3 separate regions of the Homo sapiens genome follow, and all the other regions are linked to region 3. Evidence: promoter capture Hi-C in human tissues and cell types (Jung and others, 2019). All regions are on one chromosome and are shown on one strand. The core of a region is centred on a gene start or on the middle of the fragment in contact, and the rest is flanking DNA. Distances in the headings are between cores, read along the strand shown. Region 1 overlaps RELCH (RAB11 binding and LisH domain, coiled-coil and HEAT repeat containing). Region 2 overlaps SERPINB5 (serpin family B member 5). Region 3 holds the start of PHLPP1 (PH domain and leucine rich repeat protein phosphatase 1).

Region 1 (4,171 bases), core at 1,198-3,697, 510 kb before region 3:
TTTTTCCCTTGAAACATGTGTTATATTTTCTTGAATATTTATATTTATTATATTATATTAATATTCTATTTTCTTGCCTGGTATCCTTGTCCACATTATTTTTTTTTTCTTATGGAATACTTGTCCTGTCTTCCATATTTCTTCTAAATCCTGTGCATCCTTAAAGGAAGATCCTGTTTATATTCCTGCCTTTCCCTAAAGTTTCTCCAGCCCATGGTGATCTCTAAATCTTCTGTACTTGAGGGGTTTTTTTGGCTGTTCCACTTATGGAAATTAATTATATACAGACCTGTGAATATGTGTTTCTAATTAACTCTTAATAATATTATTGAAATGTTTGTGTGTAGATGTTTTAGCTGACTAGATTTTTTAAAAGATGTTAGCTCATAGGTCTTATATTGTCCTCTTTCATGCCTAGCATAAATGCCTAAGGTAGACAGTTTATAGAAAATTTATCTGTGTATCAACAGTACTTAATATTGTGCCTGGCATACAAGCTTTCAGTAAATATTGAAGTTACGTTAAAGAATTGATCTTTAGGTAGTAGTTTCCTAAACATTTATAAGTTGGGAATATTTTCTTGTGAAAATTAACCTTTTACTTTATATCCGATTTCCTCAACTCTGTCTGAGCAAGATTCCATCAAAGCTCTGTTTCTGAGGCCATTCACAACATCAAACCCAACTTACCTGGAATCTAGGCGATCAGAACCTGGATGCTCTTACATATTATTCAAGAGAACCAATGGTTTAGAGCTCAGGCTTTGCTGTCGGAGAGCTTGAGTTCATATTTCTATTCTGCCACTCCCTCATTGCATGACTCTGGATAGTCTTTGTTTCCTTTACTGTAAAATGCAGATGGTAATGACTCCTTTAGCACAGGGTTGTTATGAAAGGTTATCTGTGTAAAGTATGTGGCATAAAATAAGTGGTCAAAAAGAATGTTAATAATAATAATTACTATTGTTGTCATCACTAACAATAATCATTCTCTTTACTAATAGCTTTTCATATGATAAAGTCATCTTGTATTATAGAAATTTTAAGTGACTAGCTTGTCAATAAAGTTTCAGCATGTAAGTTTCTTCCCAAGTGTAAATCTTGACTTTGAAGTTCCACTCTTTCTGAAACCCTGTGACAAAGAGAAAAAGACAGTGGGCTGCAAACTGGGAGGCTTGAATTCTACTTCTGGCTTGCTCACAGATTAATTTTTTAACCTTTAAGATAAAGTAAGCCAATTGTATTATTGTTATCCCTGTATATGACTTAATTCCAATGATTCATAAGCTTCCTTAAGGCAAGGACAAAGTTTTACCGAAGTTTTATCTTTGTACTCCTCACTATGGCTTAGTAAATACTGCATAAGTACATAGCTTCAGTTCTCTCATCTGTAAAAATGAGGGGATTGTACTGTCTTAATTCCTTTTAGCTCTCAAATATTTTGGACATAGAGGTCAGTGAAAAATTAGCCCCATCTTTGGAGAGGAATTGAGGATCAGGAAAATATAAATGTGAGTGCCGCAGTTGCTAAAAGTAAAAGGCTGTCCCCAACTTTTTTTTTTTTTTTTAATGGAGAGATAGACCAAGATCCTGGTCTATCCAGAAATTAGCCTTTCTATTCTGGTGTATCATGTGTATTCTAAAGTGTTTCACATCTTTCCTTTCTTTATCACCAAGGTTACTGCTATACCAAGCCTTCCAAATAATTTCAGAACTGACCTTGAGTGGGAGGAGGCAGAGTACCTTTGTGGTTTTACTCTGACGTTTATAAATACAGTGCCCACATAAAAGAAACTTTTCATTAGTATTGAATGAATTTTATATTATTTCCAAAGTAGAAAATTTATAGTCTTATTTTTTTAACTTTCATATTTTAGAGTAGCCTTATAGGTTCTCTTTCTTTGACATACATCTCTGAGATCCCACCTTAAGTGAATAACTGTTTTTTCTTTGCTTTTTTTTTTTTTTTTTTTTTTTTTTTGAGACTGAGACTAGCTCTGTTGCCCAGGCTGGAGTGCAGTGGCGCGATCTCGGCTTACTGCAACCTCCGCCTCCCAGGTTCCAGTGATTCTCCTGCCTCAGCCTCCCAAGTAGCTGGGTCTACAGGCGCATGCCACCATGCCCAGCTAATTTTTTGTATTTTTATTAGAGACGGAGTTTCACCGTTTCAGCCAGGATGGTCTCGATCTCCTGACCTTGTGATCCGCCTGCCTCGGCCTCCCAAAGTGCTGGGATTACAGGCGTGAGCCACCGCCCCCGGCCCTTGAATAACATTTTAAAATGTTTACACACAACCTCAGGTTTAAATAGAATTACTTTTAAAGTAAGTCTGTTATTAGCAATATCTTTATATTTATTGAATTTATTATTATAAATTTCTTTCTCATGACAGATTTTTTTAAGCATGGTTGAATAAATCGTCTTTACTGAAAGAATTGTAATATAAAGCGAATTGCTTGATTTTTTTTCCATTTAATTGTGAATTGGATACTTTCATGATTTTTAAATTATAAAGTGCCCATATTAAAGTATATATTAAATGTAATTATGGGGGAAAATGCCAAAAGTAAAAACAAAAAGCTCAAATAATACAAAGAGAAATATGTAGTGAAAAATGTACTTCTGCTTCTCAGAGTCAGTTATTATTAATAATGTATTGTGGATGTTTACAAAAACATTAATGCAAATGTAAGCATATATAAACATGATTACTTAGACTTATATATCCATGTCCTTTAAAAAAATTATTTTGCTATTCCTGTCAGTGACCTAGTTCACAGTAGTTGTTCAATAAATATTTAAATTACCCAATACTCTTTTATTAGTCGACAGCTGGTCCGTTTTTCTGATGCATTTGGTTCTTAAAGTGCCATGTAGTTTTCAAGGATCTGAGACTAAGTTTTTCAATTATAGTAAAAACATTTTTCAGCAGTACTAAAATATTAAATGTAAATATAAATAAAACTACTTTTGTATGTGATTTAAAACATCAATCTGCACGACTGTGTATAATAGGTTTAGTTCTCAGACTTGATAAAACTTATGAACAGGTTTTACCAGTTTACCAACTATGATGAAAGTACCTGATTATTTGTTTCTGAGTTATAAAGTGAATTGTTAAGAAGTTACACAATAGGCATCCTGGTATTTGAAGAAATGCTCTGTAGTTAAAATACTTCATATTAGAATATGGTAGATTCTTAATAAAAGAGGCTAATTTTCCCAAACTCTTCTTGTATATTAGGACATTTGGAAAACAAAAGGCATTTGCTTCTCCTGGAAAAGAATTGTGGCTTAATCTAAAGAAGCACATTTACCTTGAAGCTTTAATATAACCTGTTACTAGTCTTAAAATCCAAAGTACATATAGGGTAGTCCAGTCAAAGTTAAAATTACTTTCTTCCATAAATAATTTTTCTTTCTGACAAGATGGAGTAGATTTTAATGAATTGAGAGATTGTTTTTCTTTTGTGACATCATATTTATTATATTAAAAGATATCAGAGCTTTTTTTTCCTGGAGAATATGAAGTTGTTGGCTTGGAACTAGAAAAAATTAGAAAATATATTTTTCAACGGCCATGATAATGCCAAGTTGAAAATTAAAGTGTGTGTTTGCTTTCCCCCAAGAGTCTCCCTGTTGAATAAATGAGTTCTTTAAAACTTTTAGAGAAATAATAATGGTGTTATTGAAGAATAATGTCTCATGACCAAAGTAGCTCTAATCTAGGCTTGTATATATGATTTAAAATATTAGAAGGAAGATGAAAAAGACTTAGTAAACTAATAACAGATGGATACCTAATAAGAAATATTTATCTGAAATTAACAGCCAACACCATACCTAACATTCTATTAAAATCAGGAATAAAACAATGAAGCCTGGTATCACAGCACCAGAATATTGGTTGATAAAAGTTCACCATTGAGTGTACATGTTTTCCTATGCAGGTTAGAGACTTCAGAGTAGCTAATAAGGAGCCACGACATGGGCCTAAGAGAAGAGAAGATAGTACTCAAGTGGAGTTTCTGCTTAGGGCAGCAATGGCCAGATCAACTAATATATCAGGAATATCTAGATATTAAATACAAGATCAAAAGACATGAATAGATAATTCACACACAAACCCCAAAAATAAATGGTCAATATATTTTTGAAAGAATGTAGCTGGA
Region 2 (4,201 bases), core at 762-3,261, 770 kb after region 3:
TTTCCCAGTGGCAGGCACACTGGGTGAAACACTCAACAGGCTTTCATTTTTGCCTCAGTATACCCTGCTGACCTCAGTATACACCTAATGCCAGTCACCTTTCCCTGGGGTGTGATGTCACCTGTAGGCCCTTGCCCCTGCCCTGAGGGGAGAAGGAGTAAGGTTGTGGGCTTTAAAGAAAAGTGAGAGGCCCACCTGACTTCAGGGGGCCTCGTGGTATATTTGCAATGGGAACTGGCCTGAGCGCATGGCTGTACTTATCAGGGACATATGGAGAAGGAGGAAGCCCATGGAAATGACCAGTGAGCATGAACAGAGTCAATAAAACATTATTTTTGGATAATGAACTCGCTTTTTCAGACTCTGAGATATAATCGATTTAAGTCCATCCTACACACAAGCCATATATCCCATAAAAGGGAGAATTCTGAAGAAATGTTTAAAGACCAGGAGTCCTCTCCTCCATCTTATTCTCGTCTTTGCATTCTGAATTTGTGTCCAGGTATAAGGTGCAAATTGCAATCCTATTCATCATGCCTTTGACTCTTGACACACGTTTGGGTACTGGCCAAAGGGAGTCCTCTATCTTAAGCAGTGGAGCTTACTTTCTAATGCCAGGGTGCATGTCCTACCTGAAGACCTTCAATGTCACATTCGGCCCTTGTGTCTGTGTGTGTGCGCCTGAGGCTTTGGGGGAACACTTCGAGTTTAATCCCTGTACTGCTCACCCCGGGGTAGTAATATCAATTCATTTCCCTTAGAAACATGCTGTCCTGGCTTAGGCAGAACCTCAGGAGTTCATGTAGTTCAGCTCTGCTCCCAGAAAGGGAAGCCCTGACTGCCTGAATTTACCTAATTGTCTTTGGAGTCGATCAGTAACTACCAGACTAAATAGGTAGGTAGACCTTTATTAGAACAGTGAAGCTTTTTAAATCTGAGGACCCTGTTACACTCTTAAAAATTACCGAGGACCCCAAAGAACTGTTTCTTTAAAAAAAATGTAGATTATATCTATCACTATTTACCAAACTAGAAATGAAAACCAGACACATTTTGAAATGTTCATTTACTAATTTATTAAAATAATATAATAATTAAATACTAATATGAATAATATATATATTAAAAAACATTTTCTAAAGTGAAAAAATGTAATGAGAAGAGTGATATTGTTTTTCATTTTTGCAAATCTCCTTAATATTTGGCTTAATAGAAGGGATGTCATATAGCCTCTGGAAAACTCCGCTGTCTATTAGAGATTGAGAATGATAATGTCTTAGTATTATCATGAGAATAGTTTTAACCTCATGGACCTCCTGAAAGGGTGTTAGGGACTGCCAGGAGTCAAGACACAACACTTTGGAAGTTGCTGTGTTAAAATTAAAGAGCTCTGAGATGTGACAAGATGCCTAGTTGCTGCTATATCCACTTTACCAGGCTACATATTTTGAAACTGTTCCCTCTTTTCTTTAACTCCCATATTACTTATTATACCACTCACATGTCTTGGGCAGCTCTGTATTCTAGTTATTTGTCTGCATATCTGCCCAAAGAGACTATGAGCTTAGAGAAGGAGGAGGTCCACTGATCCTTGTAACACTCTGGGTAGTGTCTTACACACAGATGCGTATTATAAACGCAAACAATAACCGCTGCTGTTTATTAAGTATTGTTATGTGCTGGGTGTCCTGCAAAGGCATTAGTTACTTTAAGGGTTTTCTAGCACTTCTCACAAAGCACCACAAACCAGGCAGCTTAAAGCAACAGAAGCTTTATTCACCCACAGGCTTGGAGGCCAGTACTTTGAAATGACGATGTCGGCAGGGTCATGCTGTCTCAAAAGGCTCCAGGGGAGAATGTTCCATGACTTTCTCTTGGTTTCTGGTGTTGCCAGCAGTTCTTAGCATTCTTTGGCTTGTGGAAGCATCCCTCCAATCTCTGCCTCCATTGCCATACGGCATGCCCTTCACACAGGTGAAGACATTTGTGTCTTCACATCTTCCCTCTGTGTATGTCTGTTTCTGTGTCTCTCCTCTTATTCCTTTAAGGACACCAGTCATATCGGATTAGGGCTCACCTAACTCCAATGTAACTTCATCTTAACTAATTATATATTAGTTAAGAAATAGGACATACCCTGTTTCCACGTAAGGTCACATTCACAGGTAATGGGGATTAGGACTTAACATATCTTTTTGGGGGACACAATTCAACCCATTACACTTACTAAATATTAAACTGAACAATGCAAAACTGCTGCAATTCGACTGTTTTTGTTTTATAAAAGTTTTAACTTTGTAGTTTAACTGAAATCCTAATGGAAACAATATGTGATAAATAAAACCAACTGATGTTGATTAGTGCTGTCAACTTTTCTGACATATGCTGGAGAAGAGATGTGACCACTGGGCTCCCGACAATGGCCACTGTGGCTGAGCAGGCCCAAGACTGCAGAGTCTAGGCAGAGCTGGACACACAGAGGACCTCACATGCCTTCAGACATTTGCCTGGAAGTTTCTTCACAACTGATCTTACTTTTGAATTTACAGAAAGTTCCTTGTTTCTTCTGAGATCAATTACTTTGTTTAAATAGAATTCTTATAGTGTTGGCAGAATGCAGTTGAGAAGACGTTAAAGATGCTTTAGAAACTAACTGCTCCCTTGTCCTTGCTTCCAGGCCCGCAATGGATGCCCTGCAACTAGCAAATTCGGCTTTTGCCGTTGATCTGTTCAAACAACTATGTGAAAAGGAGCCACTGGGCAATGTCCTCTTCTCTCCAATCTGTCTCTCCACCTCTCTGTCACTTGCTCAAGTGGGTGCTAAAGGTGACACTGCAAATGAAATTGGACAGGTAAGCCCCAAAACCTTGTTTCTACTTTAAGTGGGAATACAGTTATTAGAACCCATAGGCAGTGCCTACGGAAAAAAGGAATGTAGACTTTGTGGCCAGAATTGGTCAAGATTCAGAACTGTGCCATTCCAGGACTCTCTTAATCTTTTTTTTTTTTTTTTTTTTTTGTGAGACAGGGTCCCACTCTGTCACCCATGCTGGAGTGCAGTGGTGCGATGTTGGCTCACTGCAGCCTCCAGGTTCAAGCGATTGTTGTGCCTCAGCCTGCCGAGTAGCTGGGATGACAGGCGCGTGCCACAACGCCAGGCAAATTTTTGTATTTTTAGTAGAGACAGGGTTTCACCATGTGGCCAGGCTGGTCTCGAACTCCTGACTTCAGGTGATCCGCCTGCCTCGGCCTCCCAAAATGCTGGGATTACAGGCATCTTAATTTATTTTTAAATGTGAAAGCTCGCTTGTAGGTAATGCAACTCACATCTGGGACAGGCACCAGGCTGTGATGGAGAACCTGGAGATCTGCTGGGTAATCACAGCTTTTTCATTCTGACTTATAATATTTTCAATTTACAATGGTTTTATTGAGATGTAACCTCATCATAAATCAAGCAGCATCTGTATCGTTTTAGGGTTTCTTTCTGGCTATGGTTGATTATCTAGCTTTGTAAAGTTCTTAGACCTTCAAATGAGACAATTTTCCTGATTGTTCCGTTTTAAGTCCTCATGTACTTTTACATAATAGGTGAATGTTCTTCTAATTCTATTTCATTATTACTCTTATGCTAATCATTCTAGGTTCAATAGAATTTCTTTTCTATTAGCTCATAAGCATTTAAAAAGGCAACACCTTCTTGTATTCATATGTGTCCAGAAAGTATGGCCCATAAGAGTTATTTAGGTAAGGATGAAGAATTTACACTTGGGACTTGAAGCAGCTTCACTCCTGTGAAGAGGAGATGTATCTTGACATCAAGCCACATCTCTGAACTGCGCAACTCCACTATCCCTACCCAATCTCCCATTCCTCATTTCTCATCTACCATTAGAGAAAGGCCAGCGAAAGAGAACTTCCGGGTAGTGGGTCTGTTCCTCAGTAATTCCTCAAGCTCTTCTCAGTATATGCAACTGGTTCCCCAGCAGTAGTTACCTGGGCTCTTAAATTTTCTGGTCTCCTTCATCCATCTTTAGGCATGAGAGTTATGCACTGTCTGGGACCAGCATTTGACCCTGCAATGCTGAGGCTATGTAATTCATTGGGACAATGTGCCGGTTTGGCAGCGTTCGTTATCTGGGTTGTGGAATCACAGCATGGCCATTATGAGTTATGGAGCGAGGAGGGTGTCATCTTATGC
Region 3 (3,803 bases), core at 1,155-3,654:
AAAGGACTATTCTTTCAATTTCTAGAACAAATAGTTTGTGTCGGGGCTACTGAAGGCACAACACAGATCAGTGTAGTTGAAATTTATCTCAATATAATTACCTCTTTGGTTCTTCCCTTTCTTTCAGAGACTGATCCTTCAACAAATGCACATTTTCACTGACTCCAAAAAATTTCATTCAAACTTTGGTCTGTATTGCCTGACTTCTTAGACTAGGTTAGTTCCTCTTGTTTTATGTCTATTTCTGTGGCACCTTGTATTTTCCCCTTCTGTACTTCTGCTGCATTTTTTGAATGTTATTCTTTCTAACCTGTAAACTCTATGAAGGCAGGGACAGTGTGTGATTTATTCAACTGCTATAACACGGTGACTGGTACATAATAAATGTTTGTAATTATCTGTTAAATTAATTGACTTGAAAATGTTATCACTCTTGGGAGAACTTGCAATCTCCCTAATTTTTCATATGTTGCTGTTGATTGAATTTAAATAAAATACATATTATTAATAGATTCATGAGGCTAAGGGGTGAAACTTTAAATGAAAATACAGAAAATCATCAGGAATGTAAAAAATCATTGAGAAATATTTATTTTTATCTCCACAGCTTCTTCATTCTTGTTCAATGAAACTGTGATAACCTAAGCGGTAAGTTCCAGTTGGTCTCTCTCTCCAACCCCCTTCACTCTTCATCTGCAAGTTTAGTCACTTTATTGAGGTTAAAACAGGTCATAGATAGTATGTGGTTTAAAACTGTTTAAAAGTTTCACATGTGAAAATCCGGATTTAGGGCCTGGCGCGGTGGCTCACGACTGTAATCTCGGCACTTTGGGAGGCTGAGGCGGGCAGATCGCTTGAGACCTGCCGGGGCAGCATGAAGGGACTTCCCACCCCCACTAAAACAATACAAAAAATGAGCCGGGCTTGGTGGCAAGCCCTGTAGTCCCAGCTACTCGGAGGATGAGGTGGGAAAATCACCTGGGCCCGAGAGGCGGAGGTTGCAGTGAGCCCAGATCGCGCTACCGCACTCCAGCCTGGACGACAGACCCACTCTGTGGCCAAAAAAAAAAAAAAAAAAAAGAAAAAAAGAAAAAAGAAAGAAAAAAAGAAAAGAAAAATCCCGAATTACAAAGCAATTGGGGGAATGGTAATTCAATTAAAAAGGTGTACAACATTCTTTTAAATAGTAAACTGCCCAATGATTACAACATTGATTCAACTGACGAAAAATACAACTTTTCAGACCACGACTAAACATTGTGGCAGTAGAAACTATTTTTTTTTTCCCTGAATGATGAAAGAAAAAAACCAGAGAAGACGTTAAGACAGAACACGTGGAAAAAGCCCATCTCATACTCCATTCTAATGTTTCTTCTACTTACCAGTGCTTTCTGTGTCATTAAACTACTTCAGACTTCAAGAGCAATGGGAAACAATGAAACCTCAGTCCTTTGCTATTTTCCTTTTCAGGTACAGGAGAGGGAGAGGACAGACTTAGGGTTGTGCCTTCGAACAAGCACATTCAACGACAGCCTCAGTTAGAATTCCCAGACGCTGCCTGTCTTCCTGGGTCTTGAAAAAGTGGGGAAAAAGTGAGGTTGGCCCACTCAGACTGCCAGTGATGCTGTGGTGTGACGGGTGTGTATCTCTATCTCATACAATGGGCGCAGGTGAGGACCAGGACCTGCGACCTTCGTACGTTTACAGTCCCTGAAAGCCCTCACCTTTAATTAGTAGGGAAAATAAAAGTCATCTGGCAAGCTGGAGTGCGGGTAAAATACAAGTTAATGAACATGAGCATTCGTGTTCATTAAGAACTCTGGCACAGAGTTCAACGGCAGAGGGCACAATACTCACTGGCCACGGCCAGCTGCTGGCGGCCAGGAGAAGCAGAACCAAAGGACCGCTGGGACTTGTAGTCCACCATGTTTCCCTCGGGATTGCCGATCCCCTTACGAGAACCACAACTCCCAAGGTTTACCGCGCGCGTCGGTCTTCACTGCCCTCTCCGAGGCCGGCTCAGGAACCTCCCGGGAAACTGCCCCCCACCCCGCCCTCGTACGCACGCGTCACGTTTGTTTACCCTGAAGCTCCGCCTCCGGCCATCCCCTGGCTCTCCCCACTCCTCCCTGGAATGCCGTCATGCCGGCGATGAATATTTATGAGGCACACGCGGCCCTCCCGCCCTGCCAGCCTCCCGCCTTCCCGCTCCCGGCGCATGATTAATATTCAATGAGCCCAGATCCGCGGCTGGTTCGCCGGGTTGAGGCGGGGGTAGCGGGCGGGGCCGGCGCTGGGGAGCCCGCGACCCGGGCGGGGAGGGCGTGTGTCGGGGGGGCGGTGGCGGCGAGGCGGGCGCGCGGGATGGAACACTGAGACACCGACGGAATGCTCCGAATCGCCACATAATCCCCTGGAACGGCCGCGCACAACGCCATTGGCTTCTCCCTTCTCCGCGCGCCGCCGCCGTCTCCCACCTCCGCCTCATCGCCTCCCTCTCCGCCCGCTGCCTCCGGAGCTGGGGGGGAAACGCGAAGCCCCACTGCAATGGAGCCCGCCGCCGCGGCCACGGTACAGCGACTCCCCGAGCTCGGCAGGGAGGACCGAGCTTCGGCTCCGGCGGCCGCCGCTGCGGCAGCAGCAGCAGCAGCGGCGGCCGCGGCGGCTCTGGCGGCGGCGGCCGGGGGCGGCCGGAGTCCGGAGCCCGCGCTGACCCCGGCGGCCCCGAGCGGCGGGAACGGCAGCGGCAGCGGGGCGCGGGAAGAGGCCCCAGGCGAGGCGCCGCCGGGGCCGCTGCCGGGCAGAGCGGGGGGTGCCGGGCGCAGGAGGCGGCGCGGGGCGCCCCAGCCCATTGCCGGCGGGGCTGCCCCCGTACCCGGGGCCGGCGGCGGCGCCAACTCCCTCCTGCTGAGGAGAGGGCGGCTGAAGAGGAATCTGTCCGCGGCCGCCGCGGCCGCCTCCTCGTCGTCGTCGTCCTCGGCCGCTGCTGCCTCGCACTCCCCCGGCGCTGCCGGCCTCCCCGCCTCCTGCTCGGCCTCGGCGTCGCTGTGCACCCGGAGCCTGGACAGGAAGACGCTGCTTCTGAAGCACCGGCAGACGCTGCAGCTGCAGCCGTCGGACCGGGACTGGGTGAGGCACCAGCTCCAGCGCGGCTGCGTGCACGTCTTCGACCGCCACATGGCCTCGACCTACCTGCGCCCGGTGCTCTGCACACTGGACACCACGGCCGGCGAGGTGGCCGCCCGCCTGCTGCAGCTGGGCCACAAAGGCGGCGGCGTGGTGAAGGTGCTGGGCCAGGGGCCCGGAGCCGCCGCCGCCCGGGAGCCCGCTGAACCGCCCCCCGAGGCCGGCCCCCGGCTGGCGCCCCCGGAGCCGCGGGACTCGGAGGTACCGCCCGCGAGGAGCGCGCCGGGTGCCTTCGGGGGGCCTCCGCGCGCGCCCCCCGCCGACCTACCCCTGCCCGTCGGCGGCCCGGGCGGGTGGTCGCGCCGCGCCAGCCCAGCGCCCTCGGACTCCAGCCCCGGCGAGCCGTTCGTTGGGGGCCCTGTCTCTTCGCCCCGCGCCCCACGGCCTGTGGTCTCCGACACCGAGAGCTTCAGTCTGAGTCCCAGCGCCGAGAGCGTGTCTGACCGGTTGGACCCCTACAGCAGCGGCGGCGGCTCCTCGTCGTCGTCGGAAGAGCTCGAGGCCGACGCAGCCTCGGCCCCGACGGGGGTCCCGGGCCAGCCCCGCCGTCCCGGCCACCCCGCGCAGCCCCTCCCGCTTCCCCAGACGGCTTCCTCGCCTCAGCCGCAGCAGAAAGC

The links. Contacts are between HindIII fragments. The study calls those that stand out against the background at their distance.
Region 1: a fragment that was not itself captured here is called in contact with the fragment with the promoter of PHLPP1 in region 3 in 1 of the 25 tissues and cell types used here (dorsolateral prefrontal cortex).
Region 2: a contact is called between a fragment that was not itself captured here and the fragment with the promoter of PHLPP1 in region 3, in 1 of the 25 tissues and cell types used here (lymphoblastoid cells).

The regions. Positions count from the first base shown.
Region 1 is chr18:62,199,012-62,203,182 of GRCh38, forward strand. The region is part of intron 1 of RELCH (RAB11 binding and LisH domain, coiled-coil and HEAT repeat containing); the gene reads left to right. Among named protein-coding and RNA genes, the nearest start is that of RELCH, 14 kb to the left of the region's middle. The HindIII fragment of the contact is 3,113 bases long and covers 892-4,004 here.
Region 2 is chr18:63,481,745-63,485,945 of GRCh38, forward strand. SERPINB5 (serpin family B member 5) reads left to right here. Exons shown (of 7, transcript NM_002639.5): 2 at 2,678-2,852. The coding sequence starts at 2,685. Among named protein-coding and RNA genes, the nearest start is that of SERPINB5, 6.9 kb to the left of the region's middle. The HindIII fragment of the contact is 3,293 bases long and covers 366-3,658 here.
Region 3 is chr18:62,713,137-62,716,939 of GRCh38, forward strand. It overlaps PHLPP1 (PH domain and leucine rich repeat protein phosphatase 1), which reads left to right and starts at 2,405. Exons shown (of 17, transcript NM_194449.4): 1 at 2,405-3,803. The coding sequence starts at 2,548. RefSeq lists enhancers at 1,609-1,668, 1,759-1,868, 2,826-3,788 and silencers at 2,139-2,428, 2,779-3,008, 3,219-3,358, 3,669-3,768. The HindIII fragment of the contact is 18,418 bases long and covers 1-3,803 here.